Regions from separate parts of the Homo sapiens genome. Here region 1 is linked to region 2. Evidence: promoter capture Hi-C in 16 types of primary human blood cells and fetal thymus (Javierre and others, 2016). All regions are on one chromosome and are shown on one strand. Each heading gives the region's core, a stretch centred on a gene start or on the middle of the fragment in contact. The rest is flanking DNA. Distances are from core to core; before and after follow the strand shown. Region 1 overlaps GRIN3A (glutamate ionotropic receptor NMDA type subunit 3A). Region 2 holds the start of OR13C5 (olfactory receptor family 13 subfamily C member 5).

Region 1 (5,384 bases), core at 1,873-4,372, 3.0 Mb after region 2:
TCCCAACTAACTTTTTGTATTTTTAGTAGAGACAGGGTTTCACCGTGTTAGCCAGGATGGTCTCGATCTCCTGACCTCGTGATCCACCCGCCTCGGCCTCCCAAAGTGCTGGGATTACAGGCGTAAACCACCATGCCCGGCCAGGAGGAGTAATTTTCTTGTCACTGGAGATGATCAAGCAGAGAAGTAACAGCGTAACAGGCACTTCATAGGAATATTATAAGTAAAATCTTGCTACTCAAAGCCTGGTCCATAAACCATGACATTTGCATCAATTAGCAGTTTGTTGGTGCAGAGTCTTAAGCTTCCACCTAGACCTACTGAATTGGAATCTACATTTTGAAGAAACCTTAGTCAGTACATTTAACCTTGCTATAAAGCAGCAGTCCCCAACCTTTTTGGCACCAGGGACCGATTTTGTGGACAATTTTTTCATGGATGGGTTGGGGGTGGGTGGTAATGGTTTGGAGATAATCCAAGTATATTACATTTATCATTAGATTCTTGTAAGGGATGTGCAACCTAGATCTCTCACATTTGCAGTTCACAATAGGGTTCATGCTCCTATGAGAATATCATGCCGCTGCTGACCTTACAGGAGGCAGAGCTCAGGCCATAATGCTCACTTGCCCATGGCTGTGTCACCTGGTTCCACCAGACCACGGACCATTACCTGTCCATGGCCCAGGGGTTTGGGACCCCTGCTAATCGTCCACTGATGACTCAGACATTAGTGGATGATTAGACTTGCAAAGCCCCTTCCATCCCTGAGACCACTTGATACTATAGCATCCACAGGTTATAAGTGGATAAAGTAATGCAGTAGAAGGGAGCTGGGAATTCAATACATACTATATCCTATTCCACTAGGCAAGTTAGGAATAGCCCTTTCCACCCAACTCCAAAGAACATAATACCAGGTCCAGTGACTACATTTCACTGATGAATTAAGTACTAATCTCAGATGGGTACAGATGAAGACCTTAAATGAGTATACTCAGCACTGGGATTATTTTTTAATCTGCAACATTACATCTACCTTGGATATAGCAACTTGATTATTTCCCGAGTTCGCCTCATTTTGTTTTGAGCCATTTCTCTGCTTTCTCGGGAATGTCTGATTATTCTCCATGTAGGTACTCTGTGTAGAGGTCAGTATTCCATTAATACTGAACAATTCACATACAAATAGACAGTTTAACCTTAGATATTTCCCCAAGGCCTAAAAAGGTTGATGCAAATATAAACAGAATCGGAAGAGCTGGTGAGGTATTTAGCTGAAACTTTAAAGAAATGCTTCTCTCACTGGGACTTCTTGGTGATGGTTGTAATGCAGCTCAAATGCTTAAGCTGTTTGTACACTTTTATCCTTTTTCCTTGATGCAGGCTTTCTGACATCCCTGGCTGTCTGAATTACACACAGGGTAGACCATCCTGGCCCACTGGGTTGCATCAATAGCTTCTTAGATCCCTTTTCTGATTCTATTATTCTGTGACTGCTGAGTAGCCCATGGTTATTTTTCAATATAATCTCACACAGAGAAAGAAAGAAGAATATATCATTTTGAATGAATTAAAGTAACAAAGGAAAAAATTAGTTTTAAGGAGAAAAAAGACAGCAGGAGGTGTGATAAAAACCACCAAATTTTTAATGTATCTAACCTAAGAGAATTTCATTCATTCTCTTAATAATGATGACAATTCATTTATTATGTCATTATTTATCAAGCATATACTATGTGCTAAGCCCTGTGCTTGTTGCATAACAATGATAATAATAATAGCAGCTAACATTTGTTGAAGACTTACAACCACATGAATGAGATCACTATGGGCACCATCCTCATGGAAACTTACAATCTAGCAGGGAAGGCAAATTATAAAAATAATCCCAAGTGTTGTCAGTGCTATGTGAAACTGTAGGTATAATGGGAGGGTGTTACAGGTCTAGGGGTCAGTGAAGGTTTTCCTCAGGAAGTGACATTTAAGAGTTAGCTAGACAAAGAAGTAGGGATGAGGAAAAAGTGTCCCAGGCCGACTGAAGACTATATGCAAGAGCTCTGACCAAGCAAAATGTTTGTTTTGGAAATGAGAGAACTGGCCAAAGCTTGGAAGGCCAGGGGGAGAGCAGGACGACAAGGCTAGGAAAAGGAAGGCAGGAGCCAAACATGCTGAACCTTAGAGGCCATGTGAGGAGTTTGGACTTCATCCCAAGGGCCATGGGGGAGCCATTGATGGGCATTAAGCAAGTGAGGGACATGATCAGATCTGAATTCTAAAATTTCTCTGAGTGGATCAGAAAGGAAGAAAGGGAATATGTGGATGACAGAAATGATGGTGACTCAAATAAGAGCAGTGGCAGTGTTTGCAAAACATCTCCATGTTAGAGTGAGGTCCCTGTCAGGCTAATAAGATGCTTTCTCTCCTGGAGTCTGCTTATTTGCTAATCCTTGAAGGAACTTTCAATTCTCAGAACCTCAGAACCTTTGCCTTCACAGAGCCAATAAGACAGATATGGGAGCTGATGAGCAAATACAACAGAAAGTCATGCAAAGGAAAAACACAAAGAGACAGTCCTCCAGCAGAATTCTGAGCCTGGGTCTGCTGGTTCCCTGATTCCTTCCATGCTTTGGAAAGGAACGATGTGCTGGTGCATTCAGAAAAGAAAATGAGACCCAGAAAAGCAGGATTTCCCTAAAAATCCTGGTCATAGACCATAAAAGTATTATCACAACATAATGTAAAGAATGTATTTCTGGAAGGAATTCTGTTTCTATATGAGAGAAAGGTATTTTAATTAATGATTCTACAGCCCTTTTACCTTAAAGAGAGGGTTTGTTTAGAAAGCTTGAGTTGTAAGCTATACTGTTAGCTTAGTTTGTGCTAAGTGAGATGACAAAGCTGTCACCTTCCTCTAAGTTCAAAGAACAGTTATCAATTAATTACTCATCAAGTATTTTCTTGAGCAACTACAAAATGAAAGGCATTAGAAATACAAGGATAAATTAAAATTAACATTATTCTTGTTTACATGGAGCTTCCAGTTAGTGAAGAAACTGAGAGTCTAGACGCTAATCACATGATTACATAATTAAATTTAAAACTGCAACTGTGATAGATTCTACAAAAGATAGGTATATGTACTGTAAGGGCTTACGAAAAAAGAATCTGGCCTACACAATAAGTTAGGGAAGTAATTACTGAACTGAGAGCAGAAGAATGCATATAAGTTAAATGGATAAAGCAGGATAGAAAAATAGACTAGATAAAATGAATTAACTTGACAAACAGATATAGACTACCTGCAAGGTGCCAAAGGTCGTGATAGGTAACTGTATTACACAAACAAATGAAAGTTGGTCTGCAAGTTACAGAAAATAGGATGGGCTGAAGCTTGTTAATTCCTAGTTGTGAGAAGTTGGTGTTACTTTAACTATCCAAGCCTCAGTGTTTTAATCTGCAAAATAAGAAAATAACATCTATCTTGTAAGATTATTGTGAAAATTTTAAAAGCCCTTAGCTTACCGTCTGGCATACAAGTAGCAAATCCAGACAGAGGGAGTCAGTATGATATAGTATCAGAAGCAATGTTACACAGTTGTCAAAAGCTGAATGTCTTTGATCAGGCTGAATTCCAATCCCAGGTACAATTACTAGCTCTGTGACCTTGGACAAATGACACACTTTCTAATCTTCAGTTTCTTTATGTAAAAAGATGATAGACATATCTACCTCACATTTCTTGGTAGGATCAAAGGAGATAATGCACGGAAAGGTCAAAGATTACTTAAATAAATATTTGCCTACATATTTTATATGTACAAGCTACTATATCAGCACAGATAAATAAGTAGTTATGTTTCTCTATTGTTGTTGTTTTGGGTAGGAGGGTGAAGCTAGACAAGACCAAAGGCTTCACATAGAAAATTTTCACCTAGGTCTTTGCCTACATATTTTATATGTACAAGATACTATATCAGCACAGATAAATAAGTAGTTTTTTCATTGTTGTTGTTCTGGGTAGGAGGGTGAAGCTACACAAGACAAAAGACTTTACATAGAAAAATTTGACCTAGGTCTTGAAAAATTAATAGATGTTGGACAGACAATGCTGATAAATGTGCCTTGCGCAAGCCATACGACTGCAATTTGCTACTATGAGAACAGCCCCGGGGGTTCAAGGCATAAGGATAATATTTTTAAAAGCCTGGTGAGTTCCTCCTAATAAACATCATCGCTTCAGTTGTTGTCATGAGCTAGAATGCAAGATGATGTAGTAGATAATAGCACATGCTTTGAAATAAGATAGACATGGGTTCTGAGCCAGTCCCTGCTACTTACAACTGCATGACCTTATGCCCATTACTTCACTTCTCTGAGCTTCAGTTTACTCATCCCTAAGAGGAAGTAACAACAGTGCCCTCTTCACGAAGCTATTATGAGGATTCAGCACGATAATGTATGTAAAGCTCTAAGTATCTTGTTTGGCGCATAATAAGTGTTTAATAAATGTTAAGTATTGTTATTATTGTTGATGTGGCATTAAGGTTATGCTGGCATAAAACATTAGAATTTGTTCAGTGCATGGAACAATTACATTAAACTTAGAGCAAGCTATATTACTTACTTAACAGTGGAATACCAAAGAAATACAATGAACAACAGGTTTTAAGAGTTCCTATATGGCAGTGGTTGCAGGTATTTATCTTTGTCACCCTAGTAACTTTGAGAACTCTACAGAGTAGGCCTTCAATAAGTGTTGAATAAATGAACGATTTTGCTGATTTTAAAATATTTTTTATACTTGTAAACATGGTAAGTGTTTCTGCAGATAATCTGTAAATAAAAAATACATCTGTAAATTCAACACCAATGTGTTTTCTTCCAAGGTGTGTGTGCATGTGCGTATGTGTGTGTGTGTATAATATATATGGGAAATCATGGCATTTAAATAAATGTATACATGTTTTGTTTTGATCATACCATATGAAAGCTTTTTTCCACTTGCCATATGAGCATTTGCCTTGTTTTATGAAACATACTTTACAAACATGATTTATATGTTGCATTACACTCTATAAGAATATACCATATAATTTATTTAACTATTACCTTATTGTTACACCTTTACTGTGTGTCAAAACTAATTCATCTTCAAATATATGTTATTTGTCACCATATTCAGTGAGTTCTTAATCATTTTTAGGGTAAACAACTTAAAAACCTAATTATTAAAAAAAATACTCTGTATTATCTCCCTCCTAGATGAGAACATTTTATGAAAACACTAAAAATAAATTCAATAAACAAAATGTAATATAGCCTAAAGGTGGCTAAACACAAAAGTGATGTAGTCACAGCATTAGCGCAGGTTTATTGTAATC
Region 2 (4,889 bases), core at 1,255-3,754:
CACCATCACATGTTGTGTCCAAAAATGATGCTTAATCACAATTGATAGGAATTAAATCTTAAATTAGGGGAATACCTGACATTAATTGAGATATGAGAAGGGGAGGAATTTGATATTAGCTCTAATCTTCCAGAAAAGACTATAAAAAATAGATTTTTTTTTTTTTAGTAAAGATAACACTCACTTTACAAAAACAGGGGCTCCTAATTTATGGTGTGTAAGTAAAATTTTATCTTTGAAATTATGAAATTTTTTATGCTGTTTTTGGATGACAAATACCTTTAATTTATTTATATATCTAAAATTCCAAAGGAAATATGTGCTTATTGTAAAATAGTCAAATACAACGAAATGTGCAAACTAGAGAATTATAGGTCATGTTTTCATATTAAAATAAAATGGGGCCGGGCACGGTGGCTCATGCCTGTAACCCCAGCACTTTGGGAGGCTGAGGTGGGCAGATCACTTGAGGTCAGGTGTTCAAGACCAGCCTGGCCAACATGGTGAAACCCTGTCTCTACCAAAAACACAAAAATTAGCCAGGCGTGGTGGCACATGCCTGTAGTCCCAGCTACTCAGAAGGCTGAGACAGGAGAATCACTTGAATCTGGGAGGTGGAGGCTGTAGTGAGCTGAGATCGCACCACTACACTCCAGCCTGAATGACAGAGGGAGACTCCGTCTCAGAAAAATAAATAAATAAATAAATAAATAAATAAATAAATAAATACATAAAATAAAATAGGAAATAAATAGTAAAAATAGAATGAAAATGCTCAGTCACTAAATAATGAAGAAAGATGCTTGGATTTCAGAGGAACTTTACAAACAAAAAAATTATCTAGAAACCAGTAAAAAAATTCCCATAAAATACAAAGTCTATAATAAAACAAAAAGTGCTCTAAGTGCCTTCATTAGAGCAAGAAATAGACGAGTAAGAAGGAGGAAATAAGAATTTGTCTTCTTATTTCAAGAAATTAGAAAAATAGATTTGGAAAATAGAAATTAGAAATCAGAAAATTAGAAAAATAGATCCGAATAAACAAGAAATTTATGAAGATAGAAACTTAATGAAACGCAAAAAGTCAAGAGAATAAATCTATCCTAAAGCTGTTTTTTTTTTTTAAAGACCTGGAATATAGGAAAACCCCTTGTGAGTTGAATAAAGGAAAAAAAAAGTCAAAGAGGCATCATAATGAAAATGAGAAATTTTCATGTAAGGGAGGACACAAGAATTATAATGATCAAATGCAACTCTGTGACAAAACATTTGTTATAGAAATGAGTACTTTTCTAGCAAAATATGAAGCATCAAAATCAACTGCTATCAAATTACCATATTGAAATCCCCTTACTGACCAATCACATTTTTATCTGATATTTCTTTTGAAATATTAATACTGTTAGTGAGATTGCAAGATATTCTAGCCCATGAGCCAAATTCTCTTTGCAAATTCTCTTTAAGCATTAAGTTATTAAGTACTGAGTATTAAGTTTTGAGTATTAAGAGCTCGAATTCTGAAGCCATACTGCTTGGGTTTAAGTCCTTGCTCTTTCATTTATCTGTCTTTATGAAATTGACCTTAAGCAAATTACTTAACTTTTCTGTGCCTTATTTTCCCCTCTACACAATAGGCTTGGTGATACTAAGAGTAACAGTATTACCTCATAGGCTTGCTTTTCAGACTCCATTATGTAATGCACAGAGAAAACAAATAATAGAGGGTTGGCGCAGAGTAAGAAATATAGCAATTGTTTTGCCTTTGATTTTGTCTGTGCATCCAACAAATGTTTTTGAACATTTACCTCGGTGTCTGTTCTATTCTAGCTACAGGGGCTGTGGAAATAAGCAAGAATAAGTACCTGCCCTTATGAAGTTTACATTCTACTGGGAAAGACAGACAATATACGTAACATAGTATAATTTCAAGGAGTGACAAGAGCATTGATCTATTGTGTGGTGATTTATAGCCAATAAAATAGTTTAGTGTTCAGTTTTACATAATACAATGCTCATTTCTATTATAACCTTCAGTTTACTATGTGATGACAAATATGACAAAAAGTTCAGACTTCAACAGGAATATTTCGGTTTGAATCTTAGCTCTGCTATATAGTATGTACCTTTGGTCAAGTTTACTTAACATATCCGCTTTGATTTATTCATCTGTAAAATATGGATACTAATACCCCTTTCCTAGAACTGTGATGATATTAAATGAATTAAGTGGCTGTAGCATGAAACATGTTACTTTTATCTTTCCTTCCTTCTCTCCATTCATTCATTCATTCATTCATTCCCTTCCCTCTCTCCATTCATAATTCCCTCTTTTCTGTAGACTTTTCTTTATGCTCTCTCTTCTTTCTTTGGTCTTTTCCCATTTTATTTTTCTTTTTCCTTGGGAATTATGGCACATATTCATTGACACATGCTTGAAAGTAATCAGAGTAAGATAAATATTTGTCTTAACATGCTCTGTCTTACAAGCTAAAGAGGGAGTAAAATGGAATGGGAAAACCACACCATTCTGGTGGAATTTTTTCTGAAGGGACTTTCTGGTCACCCAAGACTTGAGTTACTCTTTTTTGTGCTCATCTTCATAATGTATGTGGTCATCCTTCTGGGGAATGGTACTCTCATTTTAATCAGCATCTTGGACCCTCACCTTCACACCCCTATGTACTTCTTTCTGGGGAACCTCTCCTTCTTGGACATCTGCTACACCACCACCTCTATTCCCTCCACGCTAGTGAGCTTCCTTTCAGAAAGAAAGACCATTTCCCTTTCTGGCTGTGCAGTGCAGATGTTCCTCAGCTTGGCCATGGGGACAACAGAGTGTGTGCTTCTGGGCGTGATGGCCTTTGACCGCTATGTGGCTATCTGCAACCCTCTGAGATATCCCATCATCATGAGTAAGGATGCCTATGTACCCATGGCAGCTGGGTCCTGGATCATAGGAGCTGTCAATTCTGCAGTACAAACAGTGTTTGTGGTACAATTGCCTTTCTGCAGGAATAACATCATCAATCATTTCACCTGTGAAATTCTAGCTGTCATGAAACTGGCCTGTGCTGACATCTCAGGCAATGAGTTCATCCTGCTTGTGACCACAACATTGTTCCTATTGACACCTTTGTTATTAATTATTGTCTCTTACACGTTAATCATTTTGAGCATCTTCAAAATTAGCTCTTCGGAGGGGAGAAGCAAACCTTCCTCTACCTGCTCAGCTCGTCTGACTGTGGTGATAACATTCTGTGGGACCATCTTCCTCATGTACATGAAGCCCAAGTCTCAAGAGACACTTAATTCAGATGACTTGGATGCCACTGACAAACTTATATTCATATTCTACAGGGTGATGACTCCCATGATGAATCCTTTAATCTACAGTCTTAGAAACAAGGATGTGAAGGAGGCAGTAAAACACCTACTGAGAAGAAAAAATTTTAACAAGTAAATGAGAAAGGTGAGAGTAATTTTATAATCACAATATGGAAATCAATTAGAGAAACCAAGGTTAAACAGATAGGTTCTCGTTGCTGTTTCACATTCATCTCTCGAAGTTCTAAAGCTCCAAAATACACTTCTCTGATTGCGATACATAATGAAAAGAAGTAAATAAATAAATTTCAGTGTTTGGAAATAAGTTTCTATTCTGTTCCATTGGTTGATATGTCTATTTTTATCTGAGTACCATGCTCTTTTGATTACAATAACTTTATAACATATTTTAAAACTGCAGCATATGGTGCTCTCAGCTTTGTTTTTGCTTCAGATTGCTTTGCCCAGGCAGGGTCTTTTCTAGTTCCATGTAAATTTTAGGATTGTTGTTTCAATTTTTATGAAAAATGACATTGGAATTTTGATACAGATTGCATTGAATCTGTAGATTGCTTTAGGTAATATGGACATTTCACAATATTAATTCTTCTAATCCATGAACATGTAATATCTTTCGATTTACTTATGTCTTCTTCAATTTTTTTATCAATGTTTTATAGTTTTCAGTGTATAGTTCTTTTACGTCTTTGGTTGTCTTTTTTATTTTGGAGAGATTGGCAACCAACTCATCTAAAATGATATGTGATCATTAAATAACAAGTAAAAGAATGAGGGTTCAAAACAAAACAACTCTACATTTTTTGCTGGAACATGTTAGCTCTCTTATTAGAAAATTATGTTTATTGGCTTGTATTTTGTGAGATGAGGGGTATATAGTGATGAGTCTATTTTGAGCTTGTACACCTTGGCCTATAACTTATTGTTAACATTAAAATGTAATGGGATAATATCTATAGACAAATAGAAAATTTCAAATAATCCCTTATTCCCCATCATTGCTAGGGATTCGACAGTTCTCTTAAAATTGCCTCATAGCTATACATTTGCACATATACTTCTTTTTGTTCTATGGATTTGTATATGCCATTGCTTTATAAGACATCCTTGATATACTTTTTGCAATTAGCCTTTTCAGGCTCTTACAGACAGCCTCTATTATACTAAAAGCTACGTAAAATGAAATCTTTAAAAATGAGATGTTATTCTCGGTCCCTAAATACTGGGGTAGTTTGAAGATGTCAGGATGTGTTGTCTGCCATGATTCTGAAAAGACTAACATTAAAAGCCATAGTTTTCATTCTCCACTGGCCTGGGGAAACTGATGTTCTGTTATCTATGAAAACCTGGGGGAAAATATATTATTTAATATTATCTTGAGTTATCATAGCCATGAACTACCTTGAGTTCTAAAGATTAAGTCTCCAGGGTTTCCATATATAGTTCATTAAGTGTCTTCTTTATGTGAAGACACTTTGTTGCTCAGACCAATGTCATGGAAATTTGGAGGTTCTGGGGAAATTCTGGAGGCCATGCCCTGCATACAG

The links. The method cuts DNA at HindIII sites, captures the fragments that hold promoters and counts their contacts. A CHiCAGO score of 5 or more calls a contact.
Region 1: a fragment that was not itself captured here is called in contact with the fragment with the promoter of OR13C5 in region 2 in 1 of 17 cell types (endothelial precursors); the score reaches 5.9 in endothelial precursors.

What each region holds. Positions count from the first base shown.
Region 1 is chr9:101,628,810-101,634,193 of GRCh38, reverse strand. The region is part of intron 3 of GRIN3A (glutamate ionotropic receptor NMDA type subunit 3A); the gene reads left to right. Among named protein-coding and RNA genes, the nearest start is that of PPP3R2, 37 kb to the right of the region's middle. The HindIII fragment of the contact is 546 bases long and covers 2,850-3,395 here.
Region 2 is chr9:104,597,028-104,601,916 of GRCh38, reverse strand. It overlaps OR13C5 (olfactory receptor family 13 subfamily C member 5), which reads left to right and starts at 2,504. Exons shown (of 1, transcript NM_001004482.1): 1 at 2,504-3,460. The coding sequence starts at 2,504. The coding sequence ends at 3,460. All of the region lies in intron 3 of LOC107987105 (a long non-coding RNA gene), which reads left to right. The HindIII fragment of the contact is 5,863 bases long and covers 1-4,889 here.